2 separate regions of the Homo sapiens genome follow, and region 1 is linked to region 2. Evidence: promoter capture Hi-C in human tissues and cell types (Jung and others, 2019). All regions are on one chromosome and are shown on one strand. The core of a region is centred on a gene start or on the middle of the fragment in contact, and the rest is flanking DNA. Distances in the headings are between cores, read along the strand shown. Region 1 holds the start of UBALD2 (UBA like domain containing 2). Region 2 overlaps MXRA7 (matrix remodeling associated 7).

Region 1 (3,932 bases), core at 774-3,273, 440 kb before region 2:
GCTGACTCCTACTCCTTCAAAACAAACAAATAAACAAAAAACGAACCAAATGGAATGAGCTCATGATAGTACCTGAATTTGTTTTTCATCAGTACAGAAACATTAACATTAATTGTAATCTTCTTCTTGTTTGTAAACTTTAAAAATACATACTGTCAAGTTTTCTTAGATAGGGAGTTAAATCCAATTTAGGCAAAGTCAAGATAGAACCACGACGTGCTTTCTTATTATAAGCCTCCTTCTGTTCTGCAGACCTTTAGCTGGTTAAAATACACTCTGTAATTAGTAGTTCAGATAAAAAACTCACAAAGTTCTCCTGAAACAGAAACTCTTAACAGTGAATCCCTAACAATATTTATCTTCCCAATCTCTTCTGCCCCTTCCCCAATCTGCTTAAACTCCTAGTTCTTTTCCTACCCCCACAATTCTCAAACACAGCCCTGAAGATCAAACTCTAATCCAGAAGATGGAAGCTCAGCACATACAAACAAATTTGGGGCCAGGCATGGTGGCTCACACCTGTAATCCCTGTGCTTTGGGAGGCTGAGGCAGGAGGATCACTTTAGTCCAGGAGTTCAAGACCAGCCTGGGCAACAATAGTGAGATCTCATCTCTACCAAAAATTCAAAAATTAGTCAGGCATGGTGGTGTGTGCCTGTAGTCCCAGCTACTCGAGAGGCTGAGGCAAGAGGATCGCTCGAAGTTACAGTGAGCCATGATCATGTCACTCTAGCCCTATCTAACAACCACCACCACCAAATTTTGGACTTTAAAGGGCTACCACTGAGAAACAGTATCTCTGTAGAAACACTCACTGTTTGTTATTGTTTGTTTTTATTTGGTAGAGATGGAGTCTGTGCTATGTTGCCCAAGCTGGTGTTGAACTCCCGGCCTCAAGTTATCCTCCTGTCTCGGCCTCCCAAAGTGCTGGGATTATAGGTGTAAGCCATCCCAACCCCAGACTCCACCCCTACTGCCACCCGTTGTTTTTTTAAAAGATGGTAGAAATTAAAGCTTCATCTTAGCTTTCGTGACAAGCAAGAGAAAAAAAAAAAAAGAAAATTAAAGCTTCAGTTAGGTCAACCGATTTAACAAGAAAAAATTCTTGACTTGGCATTTTGGCCACTGAGAAAGTCTCACTTTTTTCCTTGCATATTTCCTTGCATATCGTATTTATTGTACATAAATCTTGGCTTCCATCTTCAGAGAGCAAAGTCTTTGGTCTAAAAACTGAGAAAATACTGCTCGATCCTTGCGGTGGGTAGTGATTAGAAGAGGGCAGGACGCGGGTTCCTAGGGTGCAAGTAACGTTCTGTTAATTGATCTGGGTGTTCACTTGGTGAAAAGTCTGGAAGCTGTACCTGCGACATCGCACTTTCCTAATGTACGTTATATTTCAATAAAAGATTTTTTTAAATTGGACTGCTTGAAAGTTATTTTTAAAAATTACATGCTTTTGAGACTTGAGCAGCTGCAAAGGCTCTGTTTTCTATTTTGATCATTCTGTTTCTCGAGATGACCACATCTTTCAGAGGAAATGAGTCAAAGCCACTCTGTCTTGCTTTTCCAGCTGAGCATGTTCTGTTTCAATGAAGTAATGAATGAACTTGGCCGCACCACCCCCAAGCCTACAACAGCAAACAGAGGGCCCTCGGCCAATCAGCAGGCACTCCGGGTTTTCAAGTTGAGTTCAAACAGGACCACCGGAGGCCAATCAGAGTGCGCGGCCCCGCCCCGAACGCCCGGCCGTGACCAACCACGAGGCCGGATGAGCCAAAACACAGCGGCCGGCCAATGCTGGGGAGCCCCACGGCGCCGAGCTCCGCCAATGGGCGCGGCCGGGCGAAAAGAGAAACAGTGAGGGCCCCACAGGCCGCAGGATTCGAATCGAACGTCCTTACGGGAGCCGGGCGCTGGCGGAGCGGCGCCCCGGCCAATCAGCGGCAGTCCCCGAACGTTGGGCCGGCCCAGCCCCGCCCCGCGCTGTTGTTTGTGGTGTCGGCCGGGCCGCGGGAGTCGAACCACAACATTCGCCGGGCGGGCGGCGGCGGAGCGGGCGGCGGAGCGGCGGCAGCAGCGGTGAGCGCGAGCCCCGGAGCCCCGGGCGGCCGGCCTCCCGCGCCCGCGCAGCCCCGCGTCTGCGTCCGGCCGGAGACGCCGGGCCCCGCGCCGCGCCGCGCCATGTCGGTGAACATGGACGAGCTGCGGCACCAGGTCATGATCAACCAGTTCGTGCTGGCCGCGGGCTGCGCGGCCGACCAGGCGAAGCAGTTGCTGCAGGCGGCCCACTGGCAGTTCGAGGTGCGAGCCTGGCCGCCGCGGGGCCGGGCCGCGGGGGTCGGGGACGCCGGGCGGCGGCGGGGGCGGGGAGCGCTCCTGTTGTCGGCCCGGAAGGCGATCGGCGCCCGCGAGCGGGTCTTACGCGGGACCGGGGCCGGGACCGGCTCCCCTCTGCACGTGGGGCAGCCGAGGGTCGGGGGCCGCGGGCCGGGCGCGGAGGCGGGGAGAGCCGGTGGGGGGCCCAGCCGCTGCGTTTCCTGACTCCGCCTGGCCCGCCGTGTCACTGCCCTGTTTGTCCGCAGACCGCGCTGAGCACGTTCTTCCAAGAAACCAACATTCCCAACAGCCACCACCACCACCAGATGGTAAGCGGCGGCGGGCAGGGGCGCGGGCCGGGGCCGCTGTCAGCGCGGCGGTGACAGCCATGTTGCCGGGGAGCGCCGCGCCGCGAATGTAAACAAAGAGCCAAAATGTCTTCCAGGAAAGAGCGGCTCCCGGGCCGGCGCTGGCGCCTCCAACTTTGAGGCCCGCCTCCCGGGCTGCTGCTGCTTGGCCTCGGGACTGGTGCCCGGCACTGGTCCCTGGGGGGAAGCGGCGCCAAAGTTGGGGGGAGGGGGAGAGGGCCGGGGGCCTGGCGAGGGGCTCAGGAGCTGGGGGACCCCAGAGCCAGGGGATGGGGAGGGGGAGAGGGTGATGCCCGGACGTCTGGGGCACTGGGAAGCCCGCGCGAAGGGCCCAGGGAGGGCGATGGGGGTGCTTGTGTTTATGGGGACCCCCTCGTGCTGTTGAGTGGTTTCCCCCCTCCCCCTCCACACACACACACACCCAGCGCTACAGGGAACAGGAAAGGCATGAATCCACCCTGGCTCAGGAAGCCGGGCTCTACCCACAAAGATCTGTTCAACCTTCCGAAGCCCAAGGGGACTGGGAAGTTGGAAGGACATACATCCCCCAAGCCAGGAGGACACACAGATTTTGACCCAAGATAAGGCCAGGAATGTGTCTTTAATCTCTGTGTTGAGCTCCACCAGCCCAGCACACAGAGAAGTGGTCCGGGGTCTGGATTTGCTTTCTTTTTCATTCTAGCCCAGGCCCAAGCTTTTGCCCTCCTGGCCATGGGGTACTCTGCTTTCTTGAGGCCCAGGACATCTCTCCTGTACCCTACCCCCCTAGTTACCTATTAGCCCTGCTGGGGGAGGAGGGGCAGGGCTCAGCGATAGGGATCTTAAAACATTGTTCCCCAGGAGAGCTGTTGTGGACTCTAGGTGCATTTTTGGGATTTTTAACACTTGGTGCCCTTGCCTTTGGCTCTCTGTTTTCATCTAGTCACAGAGGACAAGTAGAGGGGTCTGTCTTGACCTTGTTAGCTAGTTTTTCTCAGAATGGCTGATGCTGTATATAAATCAAGCCAAAATGGCATTTGAGTATGATGGGAGCATGGTGCTGGCCACAGGGCTCTTAGAAACCCAAGAGGGTTTCATCTCCAGGGGACACCGTCCCCTGCACTTGACCAGGAGAAATGGCCAGCACCCGCCTATGCTTGAGTCTCGAAGCTTCCTGCCATCTCCTGTCACCGGATCCTTGAGATTTCCTTCCACCAGCTGTGGCCATCCCAAAAAACTCAGAACTTCCAGATACTACAGCCATTCTGA
Region 2 (3,710 bases), core at 403-2,902:
ACAAAGTTTATCTATTAGGAAAGCCCCTGGACTTCTTTCATATATGGAAAAAAATTAAGTTAGGCACTCAAACAACTTTACAAAAAAATACCCACTGGAACTACTGAACAGGGAACTCTACTTACAGCCCTCCAAGGCATCTTCTATTCAGTTGCTCTATATCGTTATAGTTATTGTGAATACAATATTTTATGTTCTACCTTTTTACTTATTTCATACTAATTTGCTAATGAATCCAATGTGCTAATTAATGAACATTTGGATTATTTCTAGTTTTTTCCCCAGTAAGTCACTGGGCCTGTTCTGGACTAAATATTTGTGTCCCCTGCAAATCTATCTGTTGAAGTCTTAACCCCCAGTGTGATGGTATCTGGAGGTGGGGGTCTTTGGGAGGTGAGATTTAGACGAGGTCACGATGGTGGAGTCCCTACAATGCTATGAGGGCCCTGATAAGAAGAGGAAGAGACATCCCTCTCTCTCTGGCATGTGAAAGTACAGCAAGAAGGTGGCTGTCTGCAGGCCAAAAAGAGAGCCCTCACCAAAACCAGAATCTGCCAACACCTCCATCTTGGACTTCCCAGCCTCCAAAAGTGTAGGAAATAATGCCTGTTGTTTAAGCAACCCAGTCTGTGGTATTTTGATATATCAGCCTAAGCTGCTTAAAGACAAGGACCTAAAGTGATATAAACAACTGGCAAATATCTACTTGGCCCTCCACTACTTGGCTTCTGAGATTTTGCTAAGAGAACAGAAAGTAGGACCACACTGCCATCACAAAGGCCCACACTGCCATCACAGAGGACCACACTGCCATCACGAAGGCCCACTCTGCTATCACAAAGGACCACACTGCCATCACAGAGGACCACACTGCCATCACAAAGGCCCACGCTGCCATCACAAAGGCCCACGCTGCCATCACAAAGGACCACACTGCCGTCACAGAGGCCCACGCTGCCGTCACAGAGGCCCACGCTGCCATCACAGAGGCCCACGCTGCCATCACAAAGGCCCACTCTGCCGTCACAGAGGCCCACTCTGCCATCACAGAGGCCCACGCTGCCGTCACAGAGGCCCACGCTGCCGTCACAGAGGCCCACGCTGCCATCACAAAGGACCACGCTGCCATCACAGAGGCCCACTCTGCCATCACAGAGGCCCACGCTGCCGTCACAGAGGCCCACGCTGCCGTCACAGAGGCCCACACTGCCATCACAAAGGACCACACTGCCATCAAAAAGGACCACACTGCCATCAAAAAGGACCACACTGCCATCAAAAAGGACCACACTGCCATCACAAAGGCAGGAGAGATGATGGGGAAGTTCACCTGCTCCTGGGTCATTCTGGGAAGGCTGGGGTCTCTGTAGCTTCCAGAGCCCACACCTATGGTGAACAGGTTGGTGAGGGCAGAGGACACAGGTGGACCTGACAGCAGGGTGACTTCAGGGGAACCAGGGCCAAGTCACATGGTTAAGACAGACAGATGAAGGCTGTGCTACCCACTCAGACCACCACCTCCAGAGTGTCTGAAAAACCAACCCCTTTCCCAAGAAATTTCCCAAAGAAGAATGTTGGCTTCTTTGTTCCAACATTCTCTTTTGAAAAATTCCAAACCTACAGAAAAGTTGAAATAATAATACAATGAATACCATACACCCTTCACCTAGATTCACCAATGGTTAACATTTTGCCATCTTTGCATTCTCTCTCTATACACACACACACTGTGTGTGTGTGTGCATGTAACTATTTGAATCATGACATGTCATCCCAAAATGTTTCAGCCTGCATCTTCCTAAGGATAAGGACATTGTTTACACAGCCATCTGCCGGTATCGTACACAAAAAATTCAGCGTTGATTCAATAAGCTTACCTAACACAGCCATTCATTTAAAAAATGTCTCAATTATCTCCAGTATGTCCTTTATAGCTCCCTTCTCTGATGGAGAATCCAATCAAGGATCAAGATTGTATTTATTTGTCATATTGCTTTAATCTCCTAAATCCCAATTAAATCTAGAAGAGTCTCTGTGTGCTTCATGACACCGGCCCACTGCCTTGCAGGAAGTCCCTACTCTTTTTTTTTTTTTTTTTTTTTTTTTTTTTTTGAGATGGAGTCTCGTTCTGTTGCCCAGGCTGAAGTGCAGTGGCACGATCTTGGCTCAACTGCAACCTCAGCCTCCTGGGTTCAAGTGATTCTCCTGCCTCAGTTTCCTGAGTAGATGGGATGACGTGCACGCCACCATGCCTGGCTAATTTCTGTATTTTTAGTAGAGACGGGGTTTCGCCATGTTGGCCAGGTTGGTCTCGAACTCCTGACCTCAGGTGATCCTCCTGCCTCGGCCTCCCAAAGTGCTGGGATTACAGGTGTGAGCCATCGCGCCCGGGCTCTAGTCTGTCTATGAGCAGAGCTAGGCCCCAAGTACCGAGATACTTGAGTCCTGGCACAGACAAGAAATTTAACTCTAGTGCTATTCAAATGACCCTTGACGCTTTGCCAATTACCAATGTTTGGGAATCCGACCATCCAGCCTTGCTCCAATCCACAAGTCCATTAGGTAAGAGGCCTGGCAATCCTAAAACCCCAACCTACACAGGAGCACCAAGAAAGCCCTGAGTCCTGGCCTGAAAAGAGGCCGGCTCCTGTTCTTGACTTCGTTGGCTCATGATTCTTTGCGTGAACAGGCCTTGCCTATAATGCTTCCTCACAGCCCACCCTGTGCTAATCCTTAGGAGAGAAAAGAGGTTCTAGCAGTATCATTCCGCTTCTCCTCAGCCTCCCTGCCCTGGCCTGTGCTGCCCTGGGGAAGCAAGAGCTGCACTGATCTCATCCCCATTTCTTTGGTCCATTTCCAGGGTCTCGGCCTATAGTAGCCCCTCCCCACTACTTTGTCCTTGGCCAAAGAGGGCACCGTGCACTAGGGGACGCTCCTGAGCGATCCCCAATAGCAGCTGAAGGCTGCTTCCCGGGGCGAGAGATCCTTCTCAATAATCAGCTTTGTAGTCAGAGGCAGCAGCTGCCCCAGCCCGCCCAGGCCTCCCTGGGAAGGGAGAGGACTGGATTAGAAAGGAGGCAGTTAATGGAAAATGAAGAGGGAGGGGAGAGGTGAGTTACACGCTGCTCCCCAGGGCAGTGACTTCCGAGCTAACAGCAGGTGGAGTTGCCCTCCTCCCTCGCTGTTGGTGGGGTTCGCTTAGGGACGGAGGGAGAAGGAGGCTGGCAGAGGGCATAGCCCCACTTCCCAACCCTGATTTGAGTTATCTTCCCCAGGGGGCCTTTCTCCCTATCTGTCCTCCAAGCCCCAGCAGTGTGATCATCAGAAGAAAGCACTGGAAGCTCTTGGAAACGCTGGAGTCCACTTCAGGACAATTTGTTTTCCTTTCTTTTTTTTCTTGTCACTGACTCGAAGCTCATCAAGACAATTTCTAAGCAGCTTCTTAGGTTAATGCCACCACTGGGAGTGGGTGGGATGACACAATATCTGTGTCCCCACAGCACCTGGCTTAATGTTTGCAGGCAGGAGTTTTGGGGGAGCTTTGGCCAGCTCAGGAAGGCCTGGGGACTTGAACCCAAAGGGGAAGGGCACTGACTTCAATTGAATTCTCCTGTGGGGTGGGTTCTCTCTGGAGGGTGCCTTAGCGGGAGGACAGACACAAGCCTCAAGTCATCCTCACTGGCACCTATGTCATGGGGGCTGCCTGGCAC

The links. Contacts are between HindIII fragments. The study calls those that stand out against the background at their distance.
Region 1: the fragment with the promoter of UBALD2 here is called in contact with a fragment that was not itself captured in region 2 in 2 of the 25 tissues and cell types used here (aorta and dorsolateral prefrontal cortex).

The regions. Positions count from the first base shown.
Region 1 is chr17:76,263,325-76,267,256 of GRCh38, forward strand. It overlaps UBALD2 (UBA like domain containing 2), which reads left to right and starts at 2,024. Exons shown (of 3, transcript NM_182565.4): 1 at 2,024-2,301; 2 at 2,583-2,645. The coding sequence starts at 2,182. It overlaps LOC105371896 (a long non-coding RNA gene), which reads right to left and starts at 1,757. Exons shown (of 6, transcript XR_007065913.1): 1 at 1-1,757. RefSeq lists enhancers at 1,427-1,476, 2,737-2,836 and silencers at 1,827-2,126, 2,427-2,566. The HindIII fragment of the contact is 4,971 bases long and covers 1-3,605 here.
Region 2 is chr17:76,705,211-76,708,920 of GRCh38, forward strand. The region is part of intron 1 of MXRA7 (matrix remodeling associated 7); the gene reads right to left. Among named protein-coding and RNA genes, the nearest start is that of MXRA7, 3.9 kb to the right of the region's middle. The HindIII fragment of the contact is 4,690 bases long and covers 1-3,710 here.